2 separate regions of the Homo sapiens genome follow, and region 1 is linked to region 2. Evidence: promoter capture Hi-C in 16 types of primary human blood cells and fetal thymus (Javierre and others, 2016). All regions are on one chromosome and are shown on one strand. Each heading gives the region's core, a stretch centred on a gene start or on the middle of the fragment in contact. The rest is flanking DNA. Distances are from core to core; before and after follow the strand shown.

What was found. Contacts are between HindIII fragments. The CHiCAGO score rates a contact against its expected background, and 5 or more counts as called.
Region 1: a contact is called between the fragment with the promoter of CYP1A2 here and the fragment with the promoter of UBL7 in region 2, in 2 of 17 cell types (M2 macrophages and neutrophils). The highest score is 7.1, in M2 macrophages.

What each region holds. Positions count from the first base shown.
Region 1 is chr15:74,744,986-74,751,242 of GRCh38, forward strand. It overlaps CYP1A2 (cytochrome P450 family 1 subfamily A member 2), which reads left to right and starts at 3,860. Exons shown (of 7, transcript NM_000761.5): 1 at 3,860-3,912; 2 at 4,745-5,584; 3 at 6,204-6,257. The coding sequence starts at 4,754. RefSeq lists a cis regulatory region at 1-2,529, promoters at 655-3,950, 1,336-1,884, 3,616-4,753 and an enhancer at 1,504-1,762. The HindIII fragment of the contact is 9,803 bases long and covers 1-5,870 here.
Region 2 is chr15:74,458,511-74,464,631 of GRCh38, forward strand. It overlaps UBL7 (ubiquitin like 7), which reads right to left and starts at 2,650. Exons shown (of 11, transcript NM_032907.5): 1 at 2,527-2,650; 2 at 174-386. The coding sequence starts at 357. UBL7-DT (UBL7 divergent transcript) reads left to right here and starts at 2,755. Exons shown (of 4, transcript NR_120377.1): 1 at 2,755-3,517. RefSeq lists enhancers at 1,216-1,735, 1,891-2,737, 2,192-2,281, 2,572-2,721, 3,669-4,169 and 1 more. The HindIII fragment of the contact is 11,059 bases long and covers 1-2,762 here.

The sequences.
Region 1 (6,257 bases), core at 2,610-5,109, 290 kb after region 2:
TGGGCAACAGAACAAAACTTTGTCTCTCTTTATTTTATTTTATTATTTTTTTTGAGACGAGTCTTGCTCTATGGCGCAGGCTGGAGTGCAGTGGCGCGATCTTGGCTCACTGCAACCTCCACCTCTGGGGTTCAAAGGATTCTCCTGCCTCAGCCTCCTGAGTAGCTGGGACTACAGGCATGCGCCACCATGGTCGGCTAATTTTTTTGTATTTTTAGTAGAGATGGGGTTTTATCATGTTGGCCAGGCTGGTCCAGAACTCCTGACCTCAAGTGATCCGCCCACATCAGCCTCCCAAAGTGCTGAGATTACAGATGTGAGCCTCCACACCAGGCCTGAGACTCTGTCTCAAAACAACAACAACAACAACCAGAATGTATCAATATTCATCCACGAATTGTAACAAATATATTACACCACTGCAAGATGTTAATAATAGGGGAAACTGCAGAGTGGGGGTGGTAAATGGCCACTTTTACCTCCCTCATCATACTTTCCACTCAATTTTTCTGTGAACCAAAGACTGCTCTAAAAAAATCTATTAGCTTTTTAAAATTCCTTGGCTCCCCTCCAAAAAGTGTACATATGACATGATCTCATTTATGTAAAATACAACAAGCAAAACAAATCCATGCAATAGATGTTGGGGTCATGGGTACCCTTGAGAAAGGAACACAACGGGACTTCTTGGATGCTTATGATGTCTCTTGATTAGAGCTGGTTATATGTGTGTTTGTTAAGTTTGCAAAAATTCATCAAGCTACACATGATCGAGCTATACATGACATATGCACTTTTCCATTTATTTATTTATTTTTGAGACAGAATCTTGCTCTGTCACCCAGGCTGGAGTGCAGTGGTGCGATCTTGGCTCACCGCAACCTCCGCCTCTCGGATTCAAGCAATTGTCATGCCCCAGCTTCCCGAGTAGCTGGAATTACAGGTGTGCACCATCACGCCCAGCTAATTTTTTTTTGTATTTTTAGTAGAGATGAGGTTTCACTATGTTGGCCAGGCTGGTCTTGAACTCCTGGCCTCACTCAAGTGATCCTCCCACCTCGGCCTCCCAAAGTGCTAGAATTACAGGTGTGAGTCACCGGTCCCAGCTGACATATGCACTTTTCTATATTGTATCCTGTAATTTAATTTTTTTAAGTTTTAAGAAAACATTAAAAATAAAAAGATAAATAGTCTGTCATACAGGAGAATTTCAAATAGTTTATGGAGATAATCCCCCCTCAAGGAGAAGGAGCGTAATCCCCCACTCCTTCGGTGTGGGCTGTGCATAGTGACTTCCTTCCAAAAGGTACAGTATGGAAAGGTGGGAAAGGAGTAACTTTACAGTGAAGAGACCTGACACGCACTACCTTAGCCAGGTGATCAAGGTCAACATCCACATCTGTAAGTCACATTGATAGGATGTAACCCTGATATGATGTGACGAGAATGGCACCTAACCTCCAAGGTCTTCCCACCAACAAACCATAACCCCAGGCTTACCATGAGAAGAAAAACATCAGGCACATTCCAATAGTGGGCATCCTACAAAATGTCCAACCAGTACTCCTGAAAATTGTCAAGGTCATCAAAAACAAGGATATCCTGAGAAACTGTCACAGCCAAGAGGAATCCAAAGAGACGTGATGACTAAATGTCATGTGATATCCAATGGGTCCTGGAACAGGAAAAGGACATTAGGTAAAACGCAAGGAAATCTAAGTAAACCATGAACTTTAGTTAATTAGAGAGACAGACAGACAGAGAGAAAGAAAGAGTCCATTTTCTATAAAACCGAGCCTAACCTCAAACCTTGACCTTTTTCATTGAGTCATCTGAACCCAATGGAGATATAGACAGGAAACAACTTTCCTCTTCTCCCATTCATGGCCTTCAAACATGCTCTGTTTCTCTATTGGATTCCCCATCCATCTGCCTTGGCATCTTCACAGGTTGATCCCACAGTTTTCTCATTTTCAGGAATAAAAGCCCACTCCAGTCTAAATCAAAACTTCCCTCTCACATCCATGCCGGGCACAGTGGCTCACACCTGTAATCCCAGCAGTTTGGGAGGCCAAGGCAGAAGGATTGCTTGGGCCCAGAAGTTCAAGACCAACCTGGGCAACATGGCAAGACCTCCTCTCTACAAAAAAATGTTTAAAAATAAAAAAATTAGCCAGGCATGGTGCACACACCTGTGATTGTGGTCCCAGCTACTCAGGAGGCTGAGGCAAGAGGATTGTTTGAGCTCAGGAGGTCGAGGCTGCAGTGAGCCATGATTGTGGCACATGAACCCCAACCTGGGTGACAGAGCAAGACTCTGTATCTAAAAAAAAAAAAAAAAGATAGCAAACTTCCTTTTCACATCCAATTTAAGGCTTGTCCTCCTCCTCCTCTTAGATCTGACTGAGATCTGGGTCCATATTAAAGACTCCTTTAGTACAACAAACACCATATATCCTCACGTAAGTCCATGAATATCTGACATTTCTCATATCTACTTTCTCTCGATTTATTGATAGATAGGTATACATTGTTTTAATTTTATGGGTACATAGTAGGTGTATATATGTATGGGGTACATGAAATGTTTTGATACAGGCATGCAATATGAAATAAGCATTCATGGAGAATGGAGTATCCATCCCCTCAAGCAAGGATAAACCTTTGAGTTACAAACAATCCAATTACACTCTTTAAAGGTGTACATTTTTTTTTTTTTTGAGACGGAGTCTCACTCTGTCGCCCAGGCTGGAGTGGAGTGGCACGATCTTGGCTCACTGCAGCCTCCACCTCCCAAGTTCAAGCCATTCTCCTGCCTCAGCCTCCCGAGTAGCTGGGATCACAGGCACATGCCACCATGCCTGGCTAATTTTTGTATTTTTAGTAGAGACGGAGTTTCACCAGGTTGGCCAGGCTGGTCTTGAACACCTGATCTCAGGTGATCCGCCCATCTCGGCCTCTCAAAGTGCTGGGATTACAGGTGCGAGCCATCGCGCCTGGCCTAGAGGTGTACATTTTTTAACAGAACCATTCAAAAGGAGGTTGTGGGGATCATGACACTTCCATGCTACAGCATTAATCTCCTAAGAATAAGGATACACTCCCACATACCATGACACTCTGTTCACACCTAAAAAAATTTACATTTATTCCAGAATATCATCTAATCTCCAGTCCGTGCTTACATGTCCCCAATTGTCCCCAAAACATCTTTTATAGATTTTTTTAAAATTTTGTTTAAATGCCATATCCAATCGATATGGCAATCAAATGCAAATCCATATTGCATTTGGTTATGTCTCTTAGTCTTTTTGCATAAGGGGGGCCTCTCTTTAGGATGCAAAATCTTTATCATCTCTTCTTTTCCACTTGGGGACTTGGGCTGAAAATCAGGAGTGGCTGGAACACGCCCATTTACTGTTTGGTTTTGCAGGTTGTTGGAGGGTACTACAGAAGAACATCCCTCTGGAGAGGGGCCGTGAGCCTGGTTGGCCTAGACTGAGTGCCCTGGCAGAGCTCTTCCTCATGTGTGCAGTGGGAAAGAAGCCCAGATCAGTCCAAAGGCCTAACCCCCACTCCCAGACCCTACCCTACTCTTCAGAGAAATAGGCTCCCTACCCTGAACCCTAAAGACAGCTGTACCTTCATCCCCAGGGACCCAGCACCCCTTCTGGCCTATCCCCAAAGAGTCACCCTGGGTCTTAGGTAGTAGGTGGAGCTGAGGGATAATGGCCCAAGGCCAAGAGTTGATCCTTCCAACTTTGTTCAGTGATCCAGCTTTCATATCAGGTGATCAGGACAACCAGGCCAATCTGATAGGGGGCGGTGTTTATAAAAAGGCCACTCACCTAGAGCCAGAAGCTCCACACCAGCCATTACAACCCTGCCAATCTCAAGCACCTGCCTCTACAGGTACCTTTCTTGGGACCAATTTACAATCTCTGGGATCCCCAACTATAGAACCTGGAAGCTAGTGGGGACAGAAAGACGGGGAGCCTGGGCTAGGTGTAGGGGTCCTGAGTTCCGGGCTTTGCTACCCAGCTCTTGACTTCTGTTTCCCGATTTTAAATGAGCAGTTTGGACTAAGCCATTTTTAAGGAGAGCGATGGGGAGGGCTTCCCCCTTAGCACAAGGGCAGCCCTGGCCCTGGCTGAAGCCCAACCCCAACCTCCAAGACTGTGAGAGGATGGGGACTCATCCCTGGAGGAGGTGCCCCTCCTGGTATTGATAAAGAATGCCCTGGGGAGGGGGCATCACAGGCTATTTGAACCAGCCCTGGGACCTTGGCCACCTCAGTGTCACTGGGTAGGGGGAACTCCTGGTCCCTTGGGTATATGGAAGGTATCAGCAGAAAGCCAGCACTGGCAGGGACTCTTTGGTACAATACCCAGCATGCATGCTGTGCCAGGGGCTGACAAGGGTGCTGTCCTTGGCTTCCCCATTTTGGAGTGGTCACTTGCCTCTACTCCAGCCCCAGAAGTGGAAACTGAGATGATGTGTGGAGGAGAGAGCCAGCGTTCATGTTGGGAATCTTGAGGCTCCTTTCCAGCTCTCAGATTCTGTGATGCTCAAAGGGTGAGCTCTGTGGGCCCAGGACGCATGGTAGATGGAGCTTAGTCTTTCTGGTATCCAGCTGGGAGCCAAGCACAGAACACGCATCAGTGTTTATCAAATGACTGAGGAAATGAATGAATGAATGTCTCCATCTCAACCCTCAGCCTGGTCCCTCCTTTTTTCCCTGCAGTTGGTACAGATGGCATTGTCCCAGTCTGTTCCCTTCTCGGCCACAGAGCTTCTCCTGGCCTCTGCCATCTTCTGCCTGGTATTCTGGGTGCTCAAGGGTTTGAGGCCTCGGGTCCCCAAAGGCCTGAAAAGTCCACCAGAGCCATGGGGCTGGCCCTTGCTCGGGCATGTGCTGACCCTGGGGAAGAACCCGCACCTGGCACTGTCAAGGATGAGCCAGCGCTACGGGGACGTCCTGCAGATCCGCATTGGCTCCACGCCCGTGCTGGTGCTGAGCCGCCTGGACACCATCCGGCAGGCCCTGGTGCGGCAGGGCGACGATTTCAAGGGCCGGCCTGACCTCTACACCTCCACCCTCATCACTGATGGCCAGAGCTTGACCTTCAGCACAGACTCTGGACCGGTGTGGGCTGCCCGCCGGCGCCTGGCCCAGAATGCCCTCAACACCTTCTCCATCGCCTCTGACCCAGCTTCCTCATCCTCCTGCTACCTGGAGGAGCATGTGAGCAAGGAGGCTAAGGCCCTGATCAGCAGGTTGCAGGAGCTGATGGCAGGGCCTGGGCACTTCGACCCTTACAATCAGGTGGTGGTGTCAGTGGCCAACGTCATTGGTGCCATGTGCTTCGGACAGCACTTCCCTGAGAGTAGCGATGAGATGCTCAGCCTCGTGAAGAACACTCATGAGTTCGTGGAGACTGCCTCCTCCGGGAACCCCCTGGACTTCTTCCCCATCCTTCGCTACCTGCCTAACCCTGCCCTGCAGAGGTTCAAGGCCTTCAACCAGAGGTTCCTGTGGTTCCTGCAGAAAACAGTCCAGGAGCACTATCAGGACTTTGACAAGGTGAGCCCGGGGTGCAGGTGGCAAGGGGCACCTTGCAGGGCCTGGGTGCAGCCCCTCCCTCCCAGCTCCAGCATGCCCACACAGCTGCTGTGTTGCCAAGGCCTAGGAAGGCTCTGGACACCTCAGACCAGCTGTGTGACCTGGAGCCGACTCTTCCCCTTCTCTGGGCCTCAGTTTCCTCATCCTTGAAGCCCCCTTCTCAGGGCTCCTCAAAGCCCCCAAGAAAAAAGCCCTGGAAATGGGGCCCTAGCAGAGTCCTGCAATGTGGGGGGCCTATGAGTGAGAAAGCTTTCATTCTGCAGAAACCTAAACCCCAACAGAGGCTAATCCCCAGCTCTGGTGTCACGTTGCTTCCCTGTGTTCACACTAACCTTTTCCTTCTTTGAAATTGGACCCCTGGTGTTATTGGGAGGAAGGGTCAATGGGGCATAAAATGACACTTTAAGCCATACCCAGGGCTGCTACCAGCTCCTGCTGCAAGCTGCAACCCCCTGCCTAGAGACCAAGTTGGGAGGATAGGGGGGTACCCAGCCACCAGGTACAGGCCAGGGGAGTGGAGCAACGTTCAGCCTTTGACCTTGGAAGTGCCAGAGGTGCCCCTAAGCTTGTGCCCCCTCAGAACAGTGTCCGGGACATCACGGGTGCCCTGTTCAAGCACAGCAAGAAGGGGCCT
Region 2 (6,121 bases), core at 1,400-3,899:
CAATAGTTTCATTATATGATTTGTGTTTCTATTTACCCAACATTCACTTCCCTGGAGTGTTAACATTATGAGGCAACAAATCCCAAGCCCTTACTTTACTCTTGTAATTCCAGAAGTATCCTCCCCCAAAAGAGATCAGAGCAGCAGCCCAACCCCAGTCCAGAGAGACTCACCAATCAGCTCAGGGTCTGGAACAGACTCCTGGAGTTTGCCAGCAATAAGCTGCTTCAGAAATGAAATACTATAGCCCCCTAGCGAGTATTCTCCCAGTTCTGTCTCTGGCAACCGAAGAATAGACTTTGGAGTAAGTGGCTGGTCAGCCAGCTTCACCGCCAGGTGCCAGTCTGAGAGAGACATCCTCTCTCTTTCGCGCTCTCTCTTTCTCCCTGTAAAAGAACAAAACCTCAGTGGTTAAAAGACAGACCACCACTCTACTCCACCCCCACCCACCAAAGGGTTGAATGAAAGACAATTCAATGTGACACTGTTGAAGAGGCATAGGGCGTACCATCAGGAGGCCAGAACTAGAATCTGGGGTTCTCTCTCTACTCATACTGTGATGGACAGCTCTCTAGGCCTCAGTTTCTTCATCCCTAACGTGGACATAAAAACGCCATCCAATCTAATAGGAATGTTGTGAGAGAGATCATCTAACCCTCTCCCTTCTGTATGCCCCTTTTTCCAATTTTCTTCAACTGTTGCTTGAACCAGTAGAACAGCTTTATAACAAGTTCCCTGCCTCTTGCCTCTCCCTATCAAATATCTATGCTGCCACCTAACAACACCCATCATTTTTTTTTTTTTTTTTGAGACGGAGTCTCGCTCTGTTGCCCAGGCTGGAGTGCAGCGGCGCGATCTCGGCTCACTGCAAGCTCCACCTCCCAGGTTCACGCCATTCTCCTGCCTTCCTGCCTCAGCCTCCCAGGTAGCAGGGACTACAGGCACCCGCCACGACGCCAGGCTAATTTTTTTTTTTTTTTGTACTTTTAGTAGAGACGGGGTTTCACTGTGTTAGCCAGGATGGTCTCGATCTCCTGACCTCGTGATCCACCTGCCTCGGCCTCCCAAAGTGCTGGGATTACAGGCATGAGCGACTGCGCCTGGCCACAACCCATCATTCTAAAACACAGATCTGACCAAGTCACTTCTCTGCTTAGAACTCTTCCAATGTCGGGCTGGGCGCGGTGGCTCATGCCTGTAACCCTAGCACTTTGAGAGGCCTAGGCGGGCGGATTGCCTAAGCTCAAGAGTTCAAGACCAGCCTGGCCAACATGGTGAAACCCGTCACTACTAAAAATACAAAAATTAGCTGGGCGTGGTAGTGCGCACCTGTAGTGCCACCTACTCGGAAGGCTGAGGTTGCAGTGAGCCAAGATCACGTCACTGCACTCCAGCCTGGGTGACAGAGAGAGACTCTGTCGCAAAAAAAAAAAAAAAAAAAAAAAAAAAAGCCAGACGCGGTGGCTCACACCTGTAATCCTGTCACTTTGGGAGGCCGCGGAGGACGGATCACTTAAGATCAGGTGTTTGAAACCAGCCTGGCCAACATGGTGAAACTACATCTCTACTATAATAGAAAAAATTTGCAGGGCGTGGTGGCAGGCGCTTGTAATCCCAGCTACTTGAGAGGCTGAGGCAGGAGAATTGCTTGAACCCGGGAGGTGGAGGTTGCAGTGAGCCGAGATAGCGCCACTGCACTCCAGCTTGGGCGACAGAGACTCCGTCCCTCCCTGCCCCACCCCGGCCCCCCAGAAAAAGACCTCTTCCAATACCTCTAAACCATCTATATAAATTAAGTCTAAACTTCATCGCCTGGCTTACAAAACTCCCTGCCAGCCTCATTCCCCAACAGAGCCCTACCCCTGCAAAGGACCTCCACAACATGTAAGTACACACTCATAACAAAGCTCTCCCCTATTTTACACCTCTGCTCATCTAACTCTGCATGTAATTTCTCTTCCCTTTTTGGCCTTTTAGCAAACTCCTACCGAAACCAACACAGATTCAATAACCTCAGTCCCCTCTCTTTCCTCTGTTGTTCCCACATCCCCTCAGAACAAAAGGGCTACAAATATCTGCTTGCCCCCTCCTCCACCCCAATTCTTGAATGCCCTTGAAAACAAAAGACTAAAGTTTTCTTCATCCTTGTCCCCATACCTGGCATACATGGAACCCCAGAAAATAAATCAGAAACTCTGACGGCGGAAGAATCTTGCAAAGCAAGATAAGTTCTTGTTATAGTCATCATTATTGCTTCCAAAGAGACCTCTGATAGAGAAGAGGAAAGAAAAGGCTGTGAAGCTGCCTAGCAGACCTTCAAGCATCCTCAAGGTATCTTCCACCTCAAGTTTATGCCAGAAGGAGGTCGTTTTATATACCATGTCTCACTTAATCCTCACAACGGTTCCCTAAGGCAGGCATTAGCCACATTTTAAAGATGAGGGAAGCAAGACTCAGTAAAATCACTGGCCCAAGGTCACAGATCGCTAGTAATGGGGCAGGAACACTATCCGGTGGCGACCTCACCGCTCCAGTGGGACCAGCTACTTGGCTGACACACATCGAGCCCGCGCTGCCCAGGGCCCCAGCGCCCTCACCCGTCCCGCGGAAGGAACCCGGCCGCACTGCCGCCGGTGTAAACACTCACTCTGGCCCTCTCGCCGGAAACCGGAAATTCCGCGCTGCATTCTGGGAGTTGCAGTTCCCGCTGTGGCCCCCCGCCCCCTTATAAACAGCCAGTCTACAAGAGGCGCTAGTTGCAAAGCTTCCGGTTCTGGGGGAAGGCGTGGCTTCCGCGCTCTTTGAAATGTCCGGCGCCGGAATGTCTGGGTGCTTTGGTTGGAGAGGGTCCCATTTCCAGTCATTCTTCAGCCTGGTGATTCCCGCGCTCCCCTGAGGAGCATATGAAGTACGTCGGTTCTGCCAGGTTGGAACGCGCTGCTGGACACTCGGCCGTAAGGCGGATCCCGGATCCCCTCCCACTCCGACCCTTCCCTCCAGAAGGGCCGGTTCCCAAACGGCCCCTTTAGACACATCCAAGCGGTTGCCGACGGCCCTCACGATGAAAACTGCTGTCCGTTGGTGAAGGCAGCCTCTTCTGTGCTCCTCGCCGCTGACTTCCTGAGGCGGACCTACCTGTGGAGGCATACCAGGAACCAGACGATGACCCCCTCCAAAAGTTGGGTCTTTGAGGAGAGCTACTAACTTGGGTTCCTGGTACACCCTCTACATGCAGTGGTGAAGCTTATCTAACAGTCATTCATAGAATCAGTTTGGGAAGGGGAATTTTCACTGAACTCTCATAGAGAAACTGTGTTTTAGATAACAGAAAGTTCTGCACGGTTAAAATGGAACAGAAATTTTTTTGCACAGAAATTAGGATTACCGAAAATACTGAAGAAAGACTACCTCTGATTGGACTCTTCTCAAGGAATTAATAATTCAAGAACTAAGGAAAGAAAAAAGTGATTATATGAAAATACTGAAGTTGATCGTAGCAGCTGAAGGCTGATCCTGTGTGGGTAAATGTAAACGCTGAATTCCCACATTCCAATGTGCGACCTGGGATTAAGGCAGCAATTGAGCAGGGTAATGTTACTGAGGAGAGCGAACAGATCGCAGGATCTCAGAAGGCCTAACATTAAAGGCAGATCACCCCTCTGTTCTCATAAGTTATATGGGGAGTTTTGAAATGGCTTTCACTGTCTTCAGGGAGTTTATCTTCAGGATAACTCCCATGTATGTTGTGGGCGCATTAGGAACCCATGGCTGTTCCCAAAGTCTCCCTTTCCCATCCTACCCATTTTTAGATATACCCCCTCTTTCAGTAATCCTTCCTAACTAGACTTCTTTAGACTCCTTCCTCTCCTGCCTACTAAGTTACTTGCACCTGAGCTCCATAATTTATCAAAATTATATATTGTGAATACTTTCCCAGTTCATGATTTTTTTTTTACTCTTAATGGTATTAGATAATTTAATTTCATTTTAAAACTTTTTTTTTTTTTTGAGACGGAGTCTTGCTCTGTCGCCCAGATTGGAGTGCAGTAGTGGCCGATCTCGGCTCACTGCACCCTCCGCCTCCCGGGTTCAAGAGATTCTCATGCCTCAGCCTCTTGAGGAGCTGGGGCTACAGGTACCTGCCACCACGCCCGGCTAATTTTTGTATTTTTAGTAGAGACGGGGTTTCACCACGTTGGCCAGGCTGCTCGAACTCCTGACCTCAGGTGATCCCAAAGTGCTGGGATTACAAGCGGTAGCCACCACGCCCGGCCTGAAATTTTGTTGTGATGGTTAGTGCCTTTTGTGTCCTATGTAAGAAATCTTTGCCTGCCCTCGTTATGAAGATACTATCCTAGGTTTTCTTCTGTGTTATTTTATCTTTCACATTTAGGTCTATGATTAATTTCACATTAATCTTTGTATATGATAGGAGTTAGACATCAAGATTCATCTCTTCCATATGGGTGTACAATTGATCCAGCACTATTTAAAAATTTTGTTCCCACTGAATTTCAGTGGCAGCTTTGTCATAAATCCGGTGACTATGTATGTCTGGGTCAATTTTTGACTCTTATTCTGTGCCATGGGTGTATTTTTCTGTCATTGTGCCAATGTCACACGTCTTGATTTCTCTAACTTTAGAGTAGGTCTTGATATCTGCTAGCCTTTTGGCTTTAAGAGGGGCATGGCTATTCTATCACCAATAGATGACAATTGTTAACTTTGTTTTATGCTTCTAAAAGTATAATTTTACTGAATCTTAAATATGTATATTCAACAAAATTTAGATTACACTGTACATTTGTTTAGTAATCTACATATTTTACCTAGCTTGAATATTTCCCCTGTGCTCAAATATTCTTGAGACTTTTTACTTTGAAATAATTTCAAGTTTACAGTACAGTTGCAAAAATATTACAAAATAATGCCCTCATACCCTTAACCCAAAGTCCCCAGTTGTTAATAGTTTACATTTACCTCATCATTCTTTCTCTCTCACTCTCTCACTATGCATATTGTTCTTTTGTTTTTCCACCCGATCCGTTTAAGAGCCAATTACAGACATTACCCAAAGTATTTCTGTATTTCCTGAAAACAAGGATATATTCTATGTCACAGCCACAGTACAACCCAGCAAAATCAAGAAATTAATAAATACAATAATACCATGTAACTTACAATCTCATTCAGCTTTCATCAACCATTCCAGTTGGGTGGAGGCTGATCATCTCTCTGCCATTTTCATAAGTTATGTCATAGATTTTCACATCTGTCACATCATTCATTTCTCCAAAGAGCCTTAGTTCCTTTTAGTAAGGAATGGTATTTAGAAGCCAAGTTTGGATGCTAGGTGTGTTTATTGCTACTGAGATGTCATTATTTCCAGTCTATTTCAGTGACTAGACCTAGCAAATAAATGAATATTGATATACACACCCATTCATCTATATTTCTATGAAATATATTTAAATATGTGTGCATATAGATGTGTATATGTATATATAGATCTATGTATATGTGAGCATATATATGTGCACATATATCAAAATATATATGTATATATAAAATATGAGTTCACACCAATACCTCAAATTCCAATCCAATACCACATATTTTCCTCTAGTCTTCCTCTTCTCTATAATTTTACCTCCCTTCTGCAATAGTAGGAAACTTGATTCTCATTTTCCACAATATACTTGTATTTTCTCATGTTGACATTCATGGTACCTGATATGGTTTGGCTCTGTGTCCCCACCCAAATCTCATGTTGAATTGTAATCCTCAATGTTGGAGGAGGGGCCTGGTGGGAGGTCATGATGTTTGGATCATGGGGCAGACTTCCCCCTTGCTGTTCTCATGACAGTGAGTTCTCAAGAGATCTGGTTGTTCAAAAGTGTGTAGCACTTCCCCCTTTGCCCTCTCTCTCCTGCTCTGCCATGTGAAGATGTGCTTGCTTCCCCTTCACGTTCTGCCATGATTGTATGTTTCCTGTGGCTTCCCCAGCCATGCTTCCTGTATAGCCTGCAGAACTGTGCGTCAATTAAAGCACTTTTCTTTATAAATCACCTGGTCTCAGGTAGTTCTTTATAGCAGTGCAAGAACAGACTAATACAGTACC